Regions from separate parts of the Homo sapiens genome. Here regions 1 and 3 are each linked to region 2. The links are contacts of gene promoters, found by promoter capture Hi-C in human tissues and cell types (Jung and others, 2019). All regions are on one chromosome and are shown on one strand. Each heading gives the region's core, a stretch centred on a gene start or on the middle of the fragment in contact. The rest is flanking DNA. Distances are from core to core; before and after follow the strand shown. Region 1 overlaps MAPK3 (mitogen-activated protein kinase 3). Region 2 holds the start of ZNF768 (zinc finger protein 768). Region 3 overlaps FBXL19 (F-box and leucine rich repeat protein 19).

The links. Contacts are between HindIII fragments. The study calls those that stand out against the background at their distance.
Region 1: a contact is called between a fragment that was not itself captured here and the fragment with the promoter of ZNF768 in region 2, in 1 of the 25 tissues and cell types used here (dorsolateral prefrontal cortex).
Region 3: a contact is called between a fragment that was not itself captured here and the fragment with the promoter of ZNF768 in region 2, in 1 of the 25 tissues and cell types used here (pancreas).

The regions. Positions count from the first base shown.
Region 1 is chr16:30,115,140-30,119,500 of GRCh38, forward strand. MAPK3 (mitogen-activated protein kinase 3) reads right to left here. Exons shown (of 9, transcript NM_002746.3): 3 at 3,210-3,399; 4 at 2,908-3,024; 5 at 2,531-2,645; 6 at 2,015-2,146; 7 at 1,755-1,864; 8 at 1,497-1,651. The coding sequence ends at 1,529. Among named protein-coding and RNA genes, the nearest start is that of GDPD3, 3.8 kb to the left of the region's middle. The HindIII fragment of the contact is 2,432 bases long and covers 916-3,347 here.
Region 2 is chr16:30,524,493-30,528,723 of GRCh38, forward strand. ZNF768 (zinc finger protein 768) reads right to left here and starts at 2,074. Exons shown (of 2, transcript NM_024671.4): 1 at 1,834-2,074; 2 at 1-1,559. The coding sequence starts at 1,921. The coding sequence ends at 25. RefSeq lists enhancers at 1,520-1,579, 3,160-3,459 and silencers at 1,780-1,829, 1,850-2,169, 2,260-3,089. The HindIII fragment of the contact is 23,531 bases long and covers 1-4,231 here.
Region 3 is chr16:30,940,231-30,944,423 of GRCh38, forward strand. FBXL19 (F-box and leucine rich repeat protein 19) reads left to right here. Exons shown (of 11, transcript NM_001382779.1): 8 at 1,886-2,049; 9 at 2,145-2,306. Among named protein-coding and RNA genes, the nearest start is that of ORAI3, 6.7 kb to the right of the region's middle. RefSeq lists a silencer at 1,780-1,909 and an enhancer at 2,334-3,276. The HindIII fragment of the contact is 5,049 bases long and covers 1-3,920 here.

The DNA.
Region 1 (4,361 bases), core at 882-3,381, 410 kb before region 2:
CCCAGGAGTTTTGAGGCTGCAGTGAGCTATGATTGCACCACTGCATTCCAGCCTGGGTGACAGAGCGAGACACTGTCTCAAAAAAACAAAACCAAAAAAAAAGATAAATAGATTGACTCCGGAAACTGAGGCGCCGAGAGGTGAGGTGCCTTGCCCAATATCACACAGCACTTACTAAGTGGCACAGCTGGAGTTTGAGCCCAGGTGCGCATGCCTTCTTTCTATCAGGCCACACCTGGCTGAAGACAGGAAGAGACCGGAGGAGGCAAGGAGGCAGCGTGGGTGGGGGCAGGCCAGTGGGGTCCCCACAGCTATGTGAACTGCTGATCTGGCAGCAGGTGTGAGGAGGCCTGGCAATCTGGGTCAGGCTGGGCGCTGCTGGGCCCCTCCCAAAGCAATCATGGCCCCACCTGCTTCTGCCACACCCAGAGCTGAAGCTTGGCTCAGGTCCTCACCTGGGTGACAGAGGCCCTCAGTGACCTCTTGCCTCTTTGCCAGTTCTGTTCCTAGAAGGAGATTAGAATGGCTTGTGGGGCTGGAGGATGCAAGGTGTTGACAGGCAGAGACATTTGGGGCTGGAGGACTCGGTGGGCCACCAGTCTGGGCAGCCTTGGGCATTTTTTTTTTTTTTTTTGAGATGGAGTCTTGCTCTGTAGTCCAGGCTGGAGTGCAGTGGTGCGATCTCGGCTCACTGCAACCTCTGCCTCCTGGGTTCAAGCAATTCTCCTGCCTCAGCCTCCTGAGTAGCTGGGATTATAGGCATGTGCCACCACACCCAGCTCATTTTTGTATTCTTTACAGTAGAGACCGGGTTTCACCATGTTGGCCAGGCTGGTCTCAACTCTTGACCTTGTGATCCACCCACCTCGGCCTCCCAAAGTGCTGGGATTACAGGCATGAGCCACTGTGCCCAGCCCTTTTTTTTTTTTTTTTGAGAGAGTCTCACTGTTGCCCAGGCTGGAGTACAGTGGTGCAACCTCCGCCTCCCAGGTTCAAGCAGTCCTCCCACCACAGCCTCCTGAGTAGCTGGGACTAGAAGCGCATGCCTACGTGCCCGGCTAATTTTTGTATTTTTAGTAGAGACAGGGTTTCACCACGTTGGCCAGGCAGGCTGGTCTCGGACTCCTGACCTCAGGTGATCCACTTGCCTCAGCCTCCCAAAGTGCTGGGATTACCAGAGTGACCCACTGTGCCCGGCTAATTTTTGTATTTTTAGTATAGATGGGATTTCACCATGCAGGCCAGGCTGGTCTCAAACTCCTGACCCTCAGGTGATCCACTCCTCTCAGTCTCAGTCTCCCAAAGTGCTGGGATTCCAGGCATGAGCCACCACACCCAGCCCCCTGGGCACTTCTGTTGTCACCAGACACATTGACCATGGGTGTGGGGTAAGCTTGCTGCTGTATGGAGGCATGTACAGATAGATATAGATATAGATATACAGATATAGATATTTAGTATCAGGGTGTCCATGTGTGGGCCATGGAGACACTCACCAGGCCCCAGGGTGCAGAGATGTCTGTCTGGGCTAGGGGGCCTCCAGCACTCCGGGCTGGAAGCGTGCTGTCTCCTGGAAGATGAGCTCCTTCAGCCGCTCCTTAGGTAGGTCATCCAGCTCCATGGCGAAGGTGAAGGGCTCCTCGGCCACTGGCTGGGGTGGTAGAGACAGCAAGGCTCAGGCCTGGCATGGGGGATGCCTACGTGCCCCCCTGCTCCCCTGCCCCCAGCCCCACTGCTGCTGGGGACTGGCCCACCTCATCCGTCGGGTCATAGTACTGCTCCAGGTAGGGGTGAGCCAGCGCTTCCTCCACTGTGATCCGTTTATTGGGGTTAAAGGTTAACATCCGGTCCAGCAGGTCAAGGGCTATGGAAGGGCAGGAGTCAGGGGTCACAGGGAAGACTGGAGGAGCTCCGAGAAGCATTGCTTTGCCTGTCTCCTCCAGCGGCTGCTGGGCTCACACACCCTCCACGACACCCAAGGTTTATCCCACACCCACCCTCATGTCTCTCGAACCTTTGGAGTCTGACTTGGGGAAAAGCTTGGCCCAAGCCACCTTGGTCTTGGAGGGCAGAGACTGTAGGTAGTTTCGGGCCTTCATGTTGATGATACAATTCAGGTCCTCCTGGGATGGGGAGCCCAGGATGCCTGTGGATAAGGAGGTGACTTGGTAAATGATCACCTCTTTCTTTCTGGGAACAGAATAGGCAACAAGGCAAGAACAAGACCCCCCAGCCCAGCAACCCATGCCAATCCCTCAGTCACCTCCTAGTCATTAGCATGGTGGTGCAGAGCAAGGGGGCTGGGTTCAGGCAGACCGAGGCTCAAATCCTAGGTCTGGTGCCTCCTCAGGTGTGGGACTTAGCCTTGCTTTTCCCATCTATCCAATGGGGATAATATCTATACCTCATTGAGATACCATGAGATGCTGGAGGCACCCCACACGTGGTGGTATCCCTGACTTGGACTCTCGAGAAATCTCACCTCGGAAAAGCTAATCATCCCCAACTCAGCCAGCCGGGCCTCCCTCACCCAGAATGTGGTTGAGCTGATCCAGGTAGTGCTTGCCAGGGAAGATGGGCCGGTTAGAGAGCATCTCAGCCAGAATGCAGCCCACAGACCAGATGTCGATGGACTTGGTATAGCCCTGGGGGAGAGGAGGAAGTGGTGAGCTCCTGGGCCAGCCTCAACAGGGTCCTGTTGTCTGCGCCAGGCCACCACCTCCAAGTTAGATCCAACACCAGGCAGAAGGCAGAGGCCTGGAGGGCTCAATGCTCAGCTTCCTTGCAGAGCCCAAGGCCCAGAGGGTAGAATTCCTGTGTCATGGGGGTCAGTGTCTGGCTCAGAGGTAGCTCCAGGGCTTCCTGGGAACTGGTCCGTTCCTTTCAGGAGTGGGCAGCCCCTCCTACCTTGGAGTTCAGCATGATCTCTGGGGCCCGGTACCAGCGCGTAGCCACATACTCCGTCAGGAAGCCGGTGTGGTCATGCTCAGGATCGGCAATCCGGGCCAGGCCGAAATCACAAATCTGGAATCAGACCTAGCTGCTAAGCTCGGCGCTCAAGGCCTCTGCAGCCTAAGCAGTCACGCCCCCTTGTCTTTGCCTCCACTGTTCCCTTTGCTTGCAATGTTCTCCTGCCCAAGGCTTCTTCTACTGGTCACTGGAAGCCCCAGACCCTGGGGGAGGAGGGGACAGGTGCCCAACCCTCTGACCTTAAGGTCGCAGGTGGTGTTGATGAGCAGGTTGGAGGGCTTTAGATCTCGGTGGAGCACGTTGGCGGAGTGGATGTACTTGAGGCCCCGCAGGATCTGGTAGAGGAAGTAGCAGATATGGTCATTGCTCAGCTGCTGGCTTTTCAGCAACTTGTACAGGTCAGTCTCCATCAGGTCCTGCACAATGTAGCTGAGGATGGTTCCGCAGACCCCCCCAGGCAGGGGGCAGTGGGAGGCACTTGGTTAAGGAAAACAGGCTCTGAAGGCGAGGCTGCACACCTCCTCCAGCCAGGGCCCCTGGGACTCAATAGATCTGCCAACCTGCACCACCAGCTGGGGAAGCTGCTGCCATTACCCAGCGGCAGGGCTCTGAGCCTCTGTTGCATCACAGTTGCTGATCCTGAGCAAGGGGCTTCATTTCTGAGGCCTCAGTTTCCCTACCGGGGAAACGGGGATAATAATAAACTGTGGGAGGCAGGAGAACTTCACAGTTAAGAGCAGCAACTTGGGCCAGGAGTGGTGGCTCACACCTGTAATCCCAGCACTTTGGGAGGCTGAGGCGGGAGGACTGCTTGAGGCCAGGAGTTTGAGACCACCAGCCTGGGCAACATGGCAAAACCCTGTCTCTACTAAAAATAGCAAAATTAACTGGGCACGGCGGCATGTGCCTGTAATCCCAGCTACTCAGGAGGCTGCAGCACGAGAATCACTTGAACCCAGGAGGCAGATGTTGCAGTGAGCCAAGATTGTGTCACTGCACTGCAGCCCGGATGACAGAGTGAGACTCTGTCTCAAAAATAAATAAATTAAAAAAAAAAAAAAACCTACAAAAAGAGCAGCAACTCTGGAGTTAACCCATGGATGTCTGAAATCTCCTCTCTACTACTCACTGGCTTTAGGATCTCAACCTGTCTGTGCCTCAACTTTCTCATCTGGTATGTAGGGGAAATAATGTTTTTTTGTTTGTTTGTTTGTTTTCTTTTTGTGGAGATGGGCTCTTGCTCTGTTGCCCAGGCAGGTCTTGAACTCATGGGTTCAAGTGTTCCTTCCACCTCGGCCTCCCAAAGTGCTGGAAATTACAGGTGCAAGCCATGAAATAATGGTTCTTTTGAGGGTGGTTGTGAAGACTAGATGAGATGGCGCATGTAAAGC
Region 2 (4,231 bases), core at 824-3,323:
TCCCACCCCTGCTGGGGCCCCAGGTCAGCGCCGGCCCGCCGCGTGGGTCCGCTGGTGGCGGATGAGGTCGGAGCTCTGGGAGAAGGCCTTTCCGCAGTCATCGCACTTGTAAGGCCGCTCGCCACTGTGGACCCGGTGATGCTGCAGAAGCGTGGAGGAGCGGCAGAAGCCCTTGCCGCACACGGCGCACCTGTAGGGCCGCTCGCCCGTGTGGGAGCGCTGGTGCTGGATGAGAGTGGAGGAGCGATTGAAGGTCTTGCCGCAGTCGGGGCAGCTGTAGGTGCGGCCTGGCAGGTGGGTGCGGGCGTGGATGGCCAGCACCGAGCTCTGGCCAAAGCGCTTGCCGCACTCAGGGCACTTGAAGGGCTTCTCCCGGGCGTGGCTGCGGGCATGGGGGATAAGGGCCGACCGCTGGGAGAAGCTCTTGCCGCAGATGCCACAGCTGAAGGGCCTCTGACCGGTGTGCACCCTCTGATGGCTGCGCAGGGACGAGTTCTGGCTATAGCACTTGCCGCACTCGGTGCAGCTGTAGGGCCGCTCGTGGCTGTGGGTGCGCTGGTGTCGCAGGAGGTAGGAGCTGTCGCCGAAGGCCTTGCCACAATGTGGGCACTTGTAGGGCTTCTGGCCAGAGTGAGTGCGCTGGTGGCGAAGCAGGTAAGAGCTGTCGGCGAAGGCCTTGCCGCAACGGGGACATTTGTAGGGCCGCTCGCCAGTGTGGGTGCGCTGGTGTTTGATGAGGTCAGAGCTCTGGGAGAAGGCCTTGCTGCAGACCTCACATTTGTAGGGCTTCTCACCGGTGTGGATGCGCTGGTGCTGGATCAGGGTGGAGCCCCGCCCGAAGCTCTTCCCGCAGATGCCACAGATGTTAGGCCGAGGGCCCTGCCCACCCCTGGCCCGGCCACCCCGCCGACCTGGACCTCGAAGGGCTCCTGTGAGACCCAGGGGATTCTGAAGCATCTCAAACTGCGGTGTAGACAGCAGGGCCCCTGTGGGCATCTCAAAAGGTGGCCCTATGGGCAGGTCCCCTGTGGGCTGCTCCCCAAACCCCTGAGTGAAGGAGTCCAGGGGGTGAACTCCTACGGAGATATTCAAAGGACTCTTTTCCTCGGGGTTCAGAAGCATCTCCGCACCTTCCTGGAATTTGGAACTTTGAGCTTCAAATTCTGGGCTTTGGGTTTTGAGCTCAGTGTTCTGGGATTCATATCTAGAGCTCTCAGATTCATAGCCAGGGCTCCGGGGTTCATACCCGGGGCTCCGAGGTTCATAGCCAGGGCTTTGGGGTTCATACCTAGGGCTCTGGGATTCAAACTCAGGGCTCTGAGAATCTGATTCAGGGCTTCTGGGTGCAAACTCAGGGCTTGGGGGCACAAGCCCAGGGCTTCGGGACTCAAACCCCGGGCTTTCAGGCTCAAATCTGGGGCTTTGGGGTTCAAACTCTGGGCTTTGTGGCTCAAACCCAGGGCTCTGGGGTTCAAGCCCAAATGGTATCTCTTCGACTTCATAGTCCCCACTGCCTTCTTGCTGAGAAATTTCCTCTTCCTCATTCTCACTCATGTTGCCTGCAGGATGAGAGAATCCAGATCGTGTGAGACCTGGAAGGTCATTTGGTCCATTAGCAACCACACACCTCCCACCTCACATGCAGGGTCGCTGGCCCCTAGACAAGTGCTGAAATTCCCACGCCCCCCTCAGCTGACCCAAGACACCCCAGTCCCCGCCGGCCCCTCCTTCGAGTCCCAGGTGTCCCAGCCCCGGGCCCTCGCTCCCTCCCTGGAGCCACAGCCCCTTCTCCTGCGCGCAAGTCCACTCCTCGGACGGGCGCTCCCTCCTCACCTCTGAGGTACCCTTCGGGGCTCCTCATTTCGTCAGAACTCTGCACATCCTGGGGCTCGAGGCCCCACGGCAACGCCTCCCGCTCCATCCCCGCGGGCTCCCAGTGCAGCGGCGGCGGCGATGGCGGCCGATCCCGCGACCCGGCCTCGGTTGCCCCGAGCCGCGGGCCCCCGCCTCCCGCCCGCTCAGCGCCGCCCAGGGGACTCGGCGGCCCAGCCCGGGCCCCCGAGGCCGGACGTCTTGACCCCGCGCCTCTCCAGCGCGCCGGGCCCCTCCCCTGCCCGCGGCCCCGCCCCCTCCCAAGGTCTCGGCCTCCCCGTGGCCCTCACTGGCCCCCGCGCGTCGCGGCCTCGGGGATGAGGGGCTTCGCGACTACCCCGGCGGCCCCCGGCCCCCGCTCCCGCCCGAGCCCCCACCTTCTGGACCCCGGCCCCGGGCTGGGCTGCACTGTCCAACGGCCGCCCAGCACCCCCCCACCCTCCCCCGCACAGGAAGTGTCCGTCCGCGGCCAGGTCCCCCCGCCGGCTCGCGCCGCGGCCTCTCTAGGAGCCGCTGGAGGTGGAAACTCGTTGGCATTAACCCTGGGCTGGAGGGGCCCGGCCACGGGGTGGGTGAGGACCGGACGCCCCGGAGCCCGCGGGGCTACCGGGGCAGTGTGTGTGCCTATGTTCTAGGTCTCCGTCCCTCCAGAGGCCCGTCTGTCCATCTCCCGGGCCCCGCGTCGTCGGTGCGTGTGGCCAAGGGCGAGGCGACAAGCGAGACCAAGGTCAGCGAGAAGGAGCGACGCTTCCCGGCGCCAGCGGGGGCGGTGTCTCGCTCCCTCCCCTCCCGGGCCTCCGGGTCAGCTCCGGCAGCGCCTCGGGAACCGGGACGGACTCCCCTTGGCCTCGCCGAGGTCCTTGAGCCTGGGACCCCCTCCAGGAACTCCGCTCCCCGGCACCTGCGCGCGCCCGCTCCCGTTCCTCCGGCCCCCACCCAGCTCGGCTCCCCTGATCCTCCTCCTCCCTCCTCCCTCCTCGAGGGCTAGGATAGTTGCCAAGGAGACAGCCCCGCCCCGGCTCCCAGAGGCACAGCTTCTCCGCCCCAGGAAGCCCGGCGGTTGGCCGATGGGGCTCGTGCTCTAGCCGCCCCGCCTCCTCCAACCCCGCGGACGGCTGGGCGTTAATGGTCGCCAGGGAACGCCAGGCGCCTTCCTGATTGGCCGGGAGTGCTGTGGTCGGGTCCGCCTCCCCTGTCGGCCAGAAGCGCCTTCAGGAGGTAGTGGGAGGGAGGTGCCAGGCATCTCCCCTCCAGCCCGGCCTGTGCCATCAAAACTTTTCCCGCCCCCACTTAGCCTCCATTATGTTTTATGAAAGCCAGAAGATCTGAGGACAGACACCCTTCCTCCTCGTCAGCCTCACACCCCTTGCCTCTCCCCTCCACCTTCCCCAGCGCCTGAGTTTAACTCAATCCCTGGCAGCCTTAGTCCCTGTTGTTAGATTTCCTCACAGGGAGGCAGGATTCCTTCCAGGTGAGGGTGATACAAAGGAGAATTGGACTGAGAGAACCATCTGGCCTTCGAGGCATCTAACAACTCTCCAGTCTTGTCTGACTCGAATGGAGTCTTGCAGAGGAAGGGAACCTGAGAAACACTGCCTCGGGCGCAGCTTTGAATTGAGGAAGTGAGCCTGGACAGACAACTTAATATCATCCAGTTCTTGTCTTTTTTTTCTACGCTTCGTGCTGAAACAAGTTTGGCAGCGTTCTTGACAGTTAACGAGCCCGATGCCCCTGTGTGAGCAGGAGCCATGGATCGTGTTTTCTTGTCGCCTACCCAGACAAATGAAGGGAAGAGAATGTTTGGGAGGAAGGATGGCCTCTCCTTCCTGAAAAGAGGTGAGAACAAGAACTTGAAGAATGCCAAGTGGTAAAAAGTGGAGAGAAACTATCTAAATAAAGGCTTACAGGTGGGGCGCACTGGCTCATGTCTGTAATCCCAGCACTTTTGGGAGGCCAAGGCAGGTGGATCACGAGGTCAGGAGTTCAAGACCAGCCTGGCCAAGATGGTGAAACCCCGTCTCTACTAAAAAAATACAAAAATTAGCCAGGCACGGTGGTGGGCACCTGTAATCCCAGCTACTTGGGAGGCTGAGGCAGGAGAATCACTTGAACCCGGGAGGCGGAGGTTGCAGTAAGCCGAGATCTCGCCACTGCACTCTAGTCTGGGTGACAGAGCAAGACTCCGTCTCAAATAATAATAATAAAGGCTTACAAATAAAATCACAAGAGCTTATGCCACGAATGAAGCGGGGAAAACTTTCTGCCCTCCAGAGAAACAGCTTCCAGCCCCATAGCTCTCTCCCATCCCAATGTATGTTTGTCTTGAAACCTTTGCTAAGAATGGCTTACATGGTCCAGC
Region 3 (4,193 bases), core at 146-2,645, 420 kb after region 2:
CTGGGCAACAAGAGCGAAACTCTGTCTCAAAAAAAAAAAAAAAGTCAGGTGTGGTGGCATGTGCCTGTAGTCCCAGCTACTCAGGAGGCTGAGGTAGGAGGATGGCTTGAGCCCAGGAGTTTAAGGTTGCAGTGAGCTGTGATCGCAGTACTGCACCCCAGCCTGGGTGACTAAGCAAGACACTGTCTCAAGAAAAAAAAAAAAAAGCTTCCTGGGCCTGCTGCTTCTGACACAGTCTATTGAGTCTCAGAGGCATTTCTGGACATGCCTTTGAGAACTACTGAACTCAGAGAAGAGAGTTCTCAAACTGAGTCCAAAGGAACTTCAGTGTACTACAAAATGTTACTAGATTACCTTGGGAGAGGTGGGGAAGGATTCCTGGGGAAGTACGTTTGAGAGGCCCTTCTCCAGTTCACTGCATGTTTTTTGTTTGTTTGTTTGTTTGTTTGTTTTTGAGATGGAGTCTCTCACTGTTGCCCCAGCTGGTGTGCAGTGGTGCGATCTCGGCTCGCTGCAATCTCCGCCTCCCGGGTTCAAGTAATTCTCCTGCCTCAGCCTCCCGAGTAGCTAGGATTACAGGCGCCCGCCACCATGCCCAGCTAATTTTTTGTACTTTTAGTAGAGACAGGGTTTCACTAGTAGAACAGCCAGGCTGTTCTCGAATTCCTGACCTCATGATCCACCCACCTCGGCCTCCCAAAGTGCTGGGATTACAGGTGTGAGCCACTGCACCCAGCCCACTGCATGTTAGATAGTCTGTTGAGGCCTGTGGAGTGCTCGGGTTAGGAAACCTGTTTAATGTTGCTTAGGACTCGTTCATCTTTGTAGCTTCAATACTTGGGACCTATAACGCTTTCTATAATCAGAGTGAATAAATGAAATGCTGTAGATGAGGAGGTGGGGGAGAGTGGTCAGTGGAAGCTTTAAGTAGTTACTAGCTTGATTCATTCATTACAAATGGGCAGCTGGGTGCAGTAGCTCATGCCTGTAATCCCAGTGTTTTGGGAGGCCAAGGCAGGAGGATCGCTTGAGGCCAGGAGATCAAGACCAGCCTAGGCAACATAGTGAGACCCTGTCTCTACAAAAAAATTGTTTAAAAATTAGCCAGGCGTGGTGACATGTGCCTGTGGTCCCAGCTACTCAGGAGGCTGAGGTGGGAGGATTGCTTGAGCCCAGTAGGTTGAGGCTGCGGTGAGCCTGAGTCCAGCCTGGGTTACAGAGTGAGACCCTGTCTCAAAAAAAATTTTTTTTCAAAAAGTGGAAAACGCAAATCTGCCCTTGTGGAATTTACATTGTAGTTGGAGGAACACAGTAATGTAATAGGGAAGATATTAGGGCTGTAAGTCCAGCTGCGGGCAGCTGGCTGTCAAGATGGGACAGGTGTGGATCAGAAGCAGAGATGAGTAAAGGAGGCAAGGACCCATGAGCACCAGAACTCAGTCAGGAATCAAGAAGCCCAAGGGTGGCTGGAGACGACTGGATAACACCAGTCCCCTTGGCATGACATCAGGCAGCATGCGTGGCATTTGTGTATGTGTTGGGCAGCACACTTTCTATGCTGGGAGGCCCACAGCTGGGATGAGCCCATGTGACCTGACAGCTGCCCTGTGGGCAGGCAGAGTGGGGGGGCTATTGCCTTCAATCATAAACGAGGCTTCTGAGGCTCAGGGAGAGGAACAGACTTGCCCAGGGTCTCATTTCCAGTTAGTGATGGAGTTGGGTTCCAATCCCAGTGCTCTTGGCTGAGGTCAGGTGCTTCTTGCTACCCTGTTGTCTGTGTGGCCAGAAGAGAGCTGGGGTGCACCCTTGGAGCTGGGGAGCCTGGGAACTGTGGGCTGCTGAGAGCTGAGGGCTGAGGTCTCTGTCTCCCCCCTATGGCCGCCAGGTGCTATGACAAGCGTCTGTGGCCTCGAATGGACCTGAGCCGGCGGAAGTCACTGACCCCGCCCATGCTCAGTGGTGTGGTTCGCCGCCAGCCCCGTGCCCTGGACCTCAGCTGGACAGGTGTCTCCAAGAAGCAGCTCATGTGGCTTCTGAACCGACTACAAGGTAGGGTGTGTGGTACGGAGGACAGGGTGGGGACAGGGACAGGCCTGGGATGGAGTCCTCACAGCACCTGCTTCCTGACTGCCCCCTCTCCGCAGGCCTGCAGGAGCTGGTGCTCTCTGGCTGCTCCTGGCTCTCTGTCTCTGCCCTGGGCTCAGCCCCACTGCCAGCCCTGCGGCTCCTGGACCTCCGCTGGATCGAGGATGTTAAAGACTCCCAGCTCCGGGAGTTGCTGCTGCCTCCACCAGACACCAAACCAGGTGCAACCTCTGTTTGCTTTTCTGGAGAATGGGCTGGGCAAGGGTAGGGTAGGAGGCCTCTCAGGTCTCTTCTGACTCATGCTGGATGGTAAAGTATTTGAAGAAAGGAAAGAATACATGAGTTTGAATAGGAAGGCCCTGGTTGGGCATTATTCATTCATTCACCCACCTGCTGTGTACTTTGAACTGAGTCTTGAAAGGAACAGGGTTTTCCCAGGGAGTGTGAGACTCAGCAGTTTGGTGGGGCAGGAGGCCCATATTGGCAGAGGGGGATGCTGGGAGCAGAGGCCATCTCTCTTCATCTACTTAAATCTCATCATCCTTTAGGCCTGGGTATAAATGCCACTTCCTCCAAGAAGCTCTCCCTGATCCCACCCCACATTGAGCTCAGAGTCCCTCTCAGCTTTGAGAGCAGCCCGCCAGCATAATACTGGGCAATTGTGGAGTGCCTTGATGCACATCTGTGCCCTCCTGCCAGGGTCTCCAGCTCCCTGAGGGCAAGCGCTGGCTGGTCCCCCAGCACGTTCTCAGTGGCTGCTCCATAGATAGCTGTTGAATGAATAACTTGAATGAGCAATCAGGATGGGAGAGGTCTAGTTTGAGGAAAGATTTTCAAAAGGAGATTTGCAGTCCCCTGAAATAAGATAATCCTTTTGTTTGTTTTTGTTTTTTGAGACCATCTGGCTCTGTCACCCAGACTGGAGTGCAGTGGCAAGATCTCGGCTTACTGCAACTTATGCCTCCTGGGTTCAAGTGATCCTCCCCACCTCAGCCTCCTGAGTAGCTGGGCCTACAGGCGTGTGCCACCACGCCTGGCTAATTTTTTTGTAATTTTTTTTTTTTTTTTTTTTTTTTTGAGGTGAAGTCTTGCTCTGTCGCCCAGGCTGGAGTGCAGTGGTGCTATCTCGGATCACTGCAAGCTCCACCTCCCGGGTTCACGCCATTCTCCTGCCTCAGCCTCCCAAGTAGCTGGGACTACAGGCGCCCGCCACCACGCCTGGCTAATTTTTTGTATTTTTAGTAGAGACGGGGTTTCACTGTGTTAGCCAGGATGGTCTTGATCTCCTGACCTCATGATCCGCCTGCCTCGGCCTCCCAAAGTGCTGGGATTACAGGTGTTAGCCACCGCACCCGGCCTGTAATTCTTATAGAAACAGGGTTTCATCATGTTGTCCAGGCCGATCTCGAACTCCTTGTCTCAAGTGATCTGCCCACCTCTGCCTTCCAAAGTGTTGGGATTATAGGCGTGAGCCACCACACCTGGCCAAAAGAATCTTTTCTTTTGGAGTTCTTTCACCCCTCTCTTTCATAGTTCCCTTCTTCCCACCATGCCCCCTCCACAACAGCCCTGAAAGGGGAGAATAGAGAAGCAACTAAGATTCTTCCCGTATTCTAGATGAGGCACTGGAGGCCCAGAGGGATTGACTGCTGCAGGTCACCCAGTCAGGCCAGAGCACTCAGCCATTGTCCACTCTTACCAGAATTGGACTGAGTTGGAGAGCTATGGGTGGGGGGTAAGGTGGGCATTGGGAATGGTGCATCCTGGGAGGTGAGAAAGTGCTGGCTGGTCCATTTCCTCCTGCTGGAATTCAGTTCAGTTCAGCCCTTTATCAGGAGCTCAGGAAGGTGGGCCTTTTTTTTTTTTTTTTTTTTTTTTTTTAGTTTTTAAATTTTTTTTTTAACTTTTAAGTTCATGGGTATATGTGCAGGTTTGTTAAATGGGTAAACTTGTGTCATGGGGGTTTGTTGTACCGATTATTTCATCACCCAGGTATTAAGTCTATTTACCATTAGTTATTTCTCCTGATCCTCTCCCTCCTCCCTCTGAAAGGCTCCAGGGTGTGTTGTTCCCATGGATGTGTCCATGTGTTCTCATCATTTAGCTCC